Regions from separate parts of the Homo sapiens genome. Here region 1 is linked to region 2. The links are contacts of gene promoters, found by promoter capture Hi-C in human tissues and cell types (Jung and others, 2019). All regions are on one chromosome and are shown on one strand. Each heading gives the region's core, a stretch centred on a gene start or on the middle of the fragment in contact. The rest is flanking DNA. Distances are from core to core; before and after follow the strand shown.

Region 1 (4,165 bases), core at 657-3,156, 640 kb after region 2:
GTTTCCAAAAAACAAAAATGGTGACAAATGCTATTTAAGGGAGAATTTTTTTTTTTTTTTTTGAGATGGAGTCTTGCTCTGTTGCCCAGGCTGGAGTGCAGTGGCATGATCTCGGCTCACTGCAAGCTCCGTCTTCTGGGTTCACGCCATTCTCCTGCCTCAGCCTCCTGAGTAGCTGGGACTACAGGTGCCCGCCACCATGCCCGGCTATTTTTTGTATTTTTAGTAGAGACGGGGTTTCACCGTGTTAGCCAGGATGGTCTCAATCTCCTGACCTCGTGATCTGCCCACTTCGGCCTCCCAAAGTGCTGGGATTACAGGTGTGAGCCACCGCGCCCAGCCCAAATTAGATAATATTTTTAAATTATTGTTAATTGTATTAAAAGTGATAATGGGGTGGTGATTTTTTTAAGTCCTAAGTTAGAAATGCATAGCAAAGTTAGTCAGGCAAAATTACATGATGTCTGCGATTTGATTTTTAAGTATTTCAACAAATTAGATAACCCAACAAACATTGTTCTCTGGCCAAAAAATGTTCTGGAAAAAAAAAAAAGTTTCTACAATTCAATGTGTTTGGAAAACACTGACTACTCTATTTCCCTTCCAGGATATTTATAATGAACACTAGATCTAAGGGTGCTCAAAAGTCCTGTAGTTAAAAACAAAAATACCTGGTTTACTTTGGTTAACCCAGATTTTCCCACTTATTTGACCACAGGACTTTTTTCCCTGCGTAACACCTGTTAACTTCCTAAGACTCAGTTTCCCCCAGAATGCATTTTGGGAATTCTTGCTTTACTTAAATAAATCCTAAGAAAAATAAGGCCCTCTTAAGTTACATGGATGATTCACCAACCCCTGAATAAGAATTTCACAATTGCATCTATTTGCAATTTAGGAGCCACTCACTGTTTTGATGTCTTTTGCATCTATAAATATGTTTACTCTTTAACATGTTTTGATTTATAAGTCAGACTCTTTCTACAATATGAAATCCCACTGCAAAAGTTCTTTGAAATGGAATTAACTTAATTTATTCAAACCCATTGCCTTGGGAATCTACAATGAAACAAATTTCAAATTGTCAAACCATACCTACTTTTTACTTTCAAAACTACCTTAAGATATTTCAAAGCTTTCCCTAACCCTTTCCAAAGACTCATGAAAATAAATTACTGGATTTACAGTAGCCAAGAACAACAACAACAAAAAACCTTGAAATCAAAGCTCTTTTGAGTCTTTCAGTTGGTACTTAGGGTTTCCAGGACCAGAAATAAAAGCCCCACAGATTCCCATCTTTATGAAAACGGTAAGTTTTTTTTTTTCTTTTTTCTTTTTTTTTTGAGATAAGGACTTGCTCTGTCGCCAAGGCTAGAATGCAGTGCTGTAATCACAGCTAACTGCAGCCTCAACCTCCCAGGCTCAAGCGACCCTCCCACCTCAGTCTCCCACGTAGCTGAGACCACAGGCATGGTACCACCATGCCTGGCTAATTTTTAAAAAAAAATTTTGTAGAGACAGAGACTTCCTATGTTGCCCAGGCTGGTCTGAAATTCCTTGGCTCAAGAGATCCTCCTACCTCAGCCTCCCAAAGTACTAGAATTATAGGCATGAGCAACCACACTCAGCTAAGTGGTCCTATGCTTATAAACAGATCCTTTGGAAAAACTGAACTGGATCCCAAAAGAGATTCACCTTAATCATGAATTCTACTTACTCCACAGGTGAAAGTTTCACAGCAAGATTTTAAGTAATATCTGCAGTTCATCTGAAAAAAATTATATCATATTCCATTTAAGAACCCCAACACTTAAAAACTCATTACACTTAAAAACTCATTGGAAATGCCCTTAAAAATGGCCAACAAAGAAATCTGAGCTAGAAGTCTCTGATGCAAGAAAACAACCAAATTTGATGTTCCCTTGCCTCTAAGGAGGCAATTTATAATGTTCAAAACACTTTATATACATTCTGTCATTTGACCCTCAAAACCCTGGAGACATGTCTGTCTTCCATCAGGGGAGCATATATCTAACATAGCTCAACTTGAAAGCCTACAACTTGTGAACTCTCAACTATCTTTGCATAGAGGGAATACTGACATAGATAACTCTATTCAGCTAAGCACTACAGAGCCCATCACCTCCCATCTCCCAGTGGGGATGCTCAGGCCAGATCCTACCCTGGGGAGTTATCGCCCATGATTTTGCTTTGTGGTAGTTGCAGACAGCTCACTATCTGCAGGCATTTAGATCTTCATACATCTCATCCACCAGGCCTTTCGTGTTACTCCACAAGGACTCTCCCTTGAACTCACTGCATCTGCTAGGATTGTCTTTAATGTTTTTGCACTATCATCCTATGGAACCTCCCATTTCACCTGTGTCAGTGTTCCCATGTGAAAGAACATGGCACTGTAAATAACATGCATGAGGGCACACAAACCAGCCAGGAAATAAAAATTTTCCAGGTCTGAATCCTGGGTCCTGCTGTCTTGGTTCTGTGAGCTCCCTGCCCTCAATCTCCTTTCATGTACATGGAGCTCCCTGCCTTCCTAAGGCTGCCAGAAGGCTGGAGGCGAGACCCACCCCAGAGTAACAAGTCCAGAGTGATGTTTAACAACTGTGGATTCTCTGTCTCCCTTTCTCCCAAAGGAGAAACAGATTGTTTTCTTTTTAAATGAGAAAGGTAAGACAGGACCCCCTACCATCAAAAAGCCTACAACCCATCTGCAAAGCCAATAGGCGAACAACTTAATAATAAAAAGCAAACAGAGAAAGACATTATAATGAATGTACAATGTACTAGGGAGACTAAAAGGAAAGAAAAACTGAAATGTGGAAGCGGGAGTAAATCAGAAAAAATGTTCATAAGAAAGCAATATTTATTTAAGCTAGCCCTTGAAAGTCAAAATTTCAGTGGTGGTGGTAGGGTGAGGGAAGAGGCAAAATTGAAACAAAGTATCAGGGACGGGCAGGAGTTCAGTGGTATTAGCAGAGACAAGGAGAGGACAGCTGGGCCTGCAAACAAGTTAGGGTCCAGATCACAGAGATTCTTGAAAGCTAAGAATAAAACAGGGACAGCTACTACTCTTATCTGTCCTTATATCAGGTATGATGCTTTCAGCTGCAAGTAACAAAAATACCTAACTCTAAGTGACTTAAATTGTGGTATCAAAGCTTTTTTGATCACGCAGGACTATCAGTTAAAAAAAAAAAAAAAAATTAGCCAGGCACGGTGGCTCATGCCTGTAATCCCAGCACTTTGGGAGGCCGAGGCGGGCAGATCACTTGAGCTCAGGAGTTTGAGACCAGCCTGGCCAACATGGTGAAACCCCATGTCTATGAAAAATACAAAAATTAGCCAGGTGTGGTGGTGCACACCTGTAATCCCAGCTATTCAGGAGGCTGAGGCAGGACAATCACTCGAACCCAGGAGGCAGAGGCTATGGTGAGCTGAGACAGCACCACTGCACTCCAACCTGGGCAACAGAGAAAGTTTCCATCTCAAAAAAAAAATTTTTTTTTAATTAAGCCAGGTGTGATGGTGCACACCTGTAGTCCCAGATACTTGGGAGTCTGAGGGGACAGGATCACTTGAGCCCAGGAGTTGGAGGCTGCAGTGAACTATCATCACACCACTGTACTCCAGCTTGGGCAACAGAGCAAGACTCCCTCTAAAAAAATAAAAAGTAAAAAATTTTAAAAACGTATTGAAGCTCAGGAATTTCAGGGGAAAAAATTTATAACATATATACTAACATATTATAAATTGTATTAATTTATGTGTAATTAAAACTAGTTATGAATGGTATGTATACACACACATGAATGTAGTATATACATTATACAACATTTAAAACTTTTAAAGGATGGGAGTCAAACAGTATTTTTAAGTTCATTTTTATTAATAATACAAATCCAAACATAATTTTGTTGTTGTTGTTGTTGTTTTTCAAGACGGAGTCTCATTCTGCCGCCGAGGCTAGAGTTCAGTGGCACAATCTTGGCTCACGGCAACCTCCACCTCCCAGGTTCAAGTGATTCTCCTGCCTCAGCCTCTCGAGTAGCTGAGATTACAGGTGTACACTACCACACCTGGCTAATTTTTGTATTTTTAGTAGAGACGGGGTTTCACCATGTTGGCCAGGCTGGTCTTAAACTCC
Region 2 (3,672 bases), core at 164-2,663:
TTTTACTCTGTAATGAGCAGCCTTCTTTTCAGATATCCCTATTAGACAGGCAGTATTTCTGCCCTTCCCCCAGTGCTCCTGCATTGCAATCATTGTACTTGCACTTATTATGTTACAAATGACCGAGGTAAGGCTGACATTCTCAGTGCATGCAAAAAGACCGAGTCTGCCAAGCTTTTTTTTTTTCCTAATGAAGCAGCTTTGTGAAATCTCCCCATGTGTTAATACTAATGAAGATCCTCCAGCACAATTAAAATCACAGCCAGTGGCTGAAGAGGAAACATAAAACAATAGCATCTTTTAAGATACATTTATCCACATATGTATAAAATATACATAGATGATCAAATTATTCTCCGATAGCTTAATTTTTACTTACTCTTCATCCTGAAAATTAAATTATGCAATTTTTAATTATATGAACTTTGAGACTTTCTTGTGTTCTGGAGGGAAAAAACGGTACCTCAACGAACTTCTAAAAAAAAAAATACGTATCTTCTTGGCTAATAAAGTGTTATCAAGATTAAGGCTTTTAAAAAAATTGTTTTTAGGAATCTATAGGATGGGGTGCGGGAGGGAATGGGGCCTATTGTATCTTTAGTTTAACTTGATTGGTTGCAGGATTTGGGAATTGGGGTTGGGGGAGTGGAAGGGTAAAAACAAAGTTGGAAGAGATTCTGGGGGTAGACCATAGCATATGACTGCATTTGTAGTTTAAAGGAGCAAAGGGCTACCAGTCTTACTCATAACTTGATTTTTAAAAAGTGTTCAGTGCCTACAATTTGCTATGCTTTTTTTCTAATCTCTCAGAAACTTGAAAAAAAGCTATCGAGATTACCTTTTACAGTGTGTGCATATAACTTTAAAACGACTATTTTAACGTCTTTTATTTAAATTTTATTTTAACTTAGTGCATAAACATTACAGCCAGTTTAACTTGTCCGTGGAAAGGCAGTAGAATTTTACCCCGGGACCGTCTTGCATACTGCTTTTTTTGAGTTTTAACATCCGCAAAATCTTGGCATATTAATTTAGTTGGGTTGTAGAATTCTGAGTTTAGGAACAAAAAAAATTTAGGTGGAGATGGTTGACCTATGCTCCCTACTCTGTAGCTTTTGTTTTTTTAAAAACTAAGTTTTAAATCCCGTTTTCTGTCCTGTCTTCTTTAAAAGCAAAACAAAACATTTTAAGTTTCTTAACTTTTTCCTGGGACAAGGAACGGTGCAAACTCAAAGCTACAGTATTCTTGGAAAGAAGAAGCAACCCCCTCCCTTGGCTCCTTTAGGAGCTGATAGGTCATTTATTATTGGAACTGAAATGGTATAAACAATTCTCTCTCTTTTTTTCCCTTGTTAACAGCAACTTTCATTGTTAGAGAGAGGAGAGAGAGAGAAGCCTTGTTGGTTGACGTCACTTGGTTCATGAAGCCTTCGCCTAGAAGTGAAGCTGCTGAACAAACCTTGAGAAGAATCATCTCCTGCTTCAATCTGCTGCTGGATAGGAACTAATCAGAGAGAGAGAGGCGGAAGACGGAGAAGGAGGGAGTCGAAGGCTTTCCCGATCACAAATCTCACCTCCACTACAACTCTCTTTATACTTTTCTTGCAGAAATAATAATAGAAATAAGGAGGTGGTGGGGTTTCCAAAAATCTTAACCTTCAACCATCTGGGGAAAAGGCAAAAATCCCATCTACCGCAACTCTCAGTTCGAGAGTAAAGGTGAGTTTAAAATCCTCGGGCGTGAGGGGTGCGGGTGAGGATGTAAATTCCCAGTGTTACAAAGCCGGTGGAAACAGCAGCGGAGAAACTGCGCTCGGGCAAGCGGGGGACTCCGGAGTTGCTGCGTGGAGGCGCTCGCCCCGCCGCCCTCTCGCCCTCCGCCGCTGTTTATCCTCGCCGGTCGGTGCGGCTCTTTGTTGTGGTGGCCGGAAGGCTGGGGTGGTTCTCGGGGTCCCGAGTGGAGTTTGGGGGAGGAGGACACGGAGATGTGCCGTCCTGGGTGGGAGGTGGGGGGTGCGGCCTCAGGAGAACGTAAACTTTATTCCTAGAAGCCGGTGCGGGACTTCGCTGGAGTAGGGCCGTGGGTTGTGCTCCCGGCCGGGCAGGCGCTGCCGCCGCGAGTCCGCCGCCTTTGTGCCGGCCGCCCTGGCTTCGCGTCTCCTTCCTCTTCCCCTTCGGCTTCCAGCGCTCAGGTCGCCGCCAACAGTTTTGCTTCTTAAAAAACAACCTCTGTCAGCGTTGCGATGGCCGTTCCTACCCCGGAATATCCGCTGCTCCCCCACTCCCTGCCGGGGTAGTTTCTGGATCACCCCCCACCCCCGTCCGCCTCCTGCTGCCCTTTTTTGCCTCCGCCCCCTCTTCCCTGTCGGACTGACGAGCTGCGTCTGCCACCCCCACTCCCCGGCTTGGGCCTCTAGCTCTCCCGTGTGTAGCTGGAGGCTCTGAGTTTACTGAAGATGAGCGGGGGTGGGGGTGGGGCAGGTGGGATTGGGAAAAGATCTGGATACCTGGGAAGGTCTATGTCAGCACGCAGAAGGTTTGAGGAGCATTGCTTCTCATACAGTAAGGTCTGTGCCTTGGTCTCATGTTTTAGCAGTTCTTCCCCGGGAACGACCGCCAGCTCCCAACTCCTCTGCTTCCCTCTTTTAATCTTCTTGTCGCTACCCCTCCCCCCAGCCCCCGTTCTCTTTCGCGGCTCCCTCCCCTTTAAGTAGTTTCACGAACCCCAGAATTGGGATTTGAGAAGGGGAAGGAAGTGTTTGAAGAGTCAGAGCTGGCTCTGTTGTTTGGGAGATTTTCTCTTCTTTTCTTTCTCCCTCTGTATTTATCTTTTGTCTGTTGCTTCCTTATAAAGAGGGAAGCAGCTGCAGTCCTTGGCCGAGTTGTTGAAATTTATCCCTTTGTGTATATTACAATATCCTCCATTTTTTTTCCTGCCCTCTAAACAACAAGCGTTTCGCCATCTTGGGCAATTTTATTCCCAAGTCTCTCTCTTTTTTATTTTTGAGGAAAGGAAAGAAGTATTAGGAAGTGTGTCTGGATAAGTCTCAAAGTTTAGGGAATGTTCAGGGGGCCCAGTGACGTCATGTAAACTTTACGGAGAAATTTTCCCAAGAGTAAATTTTTTGCTTAATTTTTCTCCTGTTTTATAGGATTGTGTAACTTACAGGTTACTGATAAGTTGTGTGGCTTATTTTTGTGTTTTGCTCTCAAAATCAGTATACGAAGTCTGCGTATTGTATGTTTTGGTAACAGGTGGAAGATTATATGCAAAAAATGGTAAAAAACTTGTGCGTCATTTGTTATTTATCTGGTTTTTGTGTACTTTTTTTTTTAATTTAAAGGTTTCAACTGTTATCTGTAGTCAGTATATTCCCTTTCTTATTTGCTCCACTCTCCCTTATGGATTTTTTGAAAATTAGCTTGGTTAATATTTATGTATGGTTATTTTAGATTATCTGGCTCCCCGTTTCTAATAAAATGTTCTGGGGTTTTCTTTTTCTATTATTTATTTACATTTTGAAAAGAAATGACTATGGAAAATACCTTAAGATAATGGATACTTTAAAATTTAGTAGCAGATATTAAGTCAAACAATTATTGAGTATTTAAGAGGCAGAATTGATTTTAAAAGTTATTTTATAATCGCTAGCTATAAACTCTTTGTCAGCC

The links. Contacts are between HindIII fragments. The study calls those that stand out against the background at their distance.
Region 1: a fragment that was not itself captured here is called in contact with the fragment with the promoter of BAZ2B in region 2 in 1 of the 25 tissues and cell types used here (dorsolateral prefrontal cortex).

The regions. Positions count from the first base shown.
Region 1 is chr2:158,976,672-158,980,836 of GRCh38, reverse strand. The region is part of intron 1 of TANC1 (tetratricopeptide repeat, ankyrin repeat and coiled-coil containing 1); the gene reads right to left. Among named protein-coding and RNA genes, the nearest start is that of TANC1, 10 kb to the right of the region's middle. The HindIII fragment of the contact is 3,973 bases long and covers 1-3,892 here.
Region 2 is chr2:159,614,289-159,617,960 of GRCh38, reverse strand. BAZ2B (bromodomain adjacent to zinc finger domain 2B) reads left to right here and starts at 1,413. Exons shown (of 37, transcript NM_013450.4): 1 at 1,413-1,719. BAZ2B-AS1 (BAZ2B antisense RNA 1) reads right to left here and starts at 2,667. Exons shown (of 2, transcript NR_110588.1): 1 at 2,508-2,667; 2 at 1-2,211. RefSeq lists enhancers at 1,324-1,393, 1,644-1,723, 1,351-1,877, 2,934-3,462. The HindIII fragment of the contact is 5,037 bases long and covers 1-3,672 here.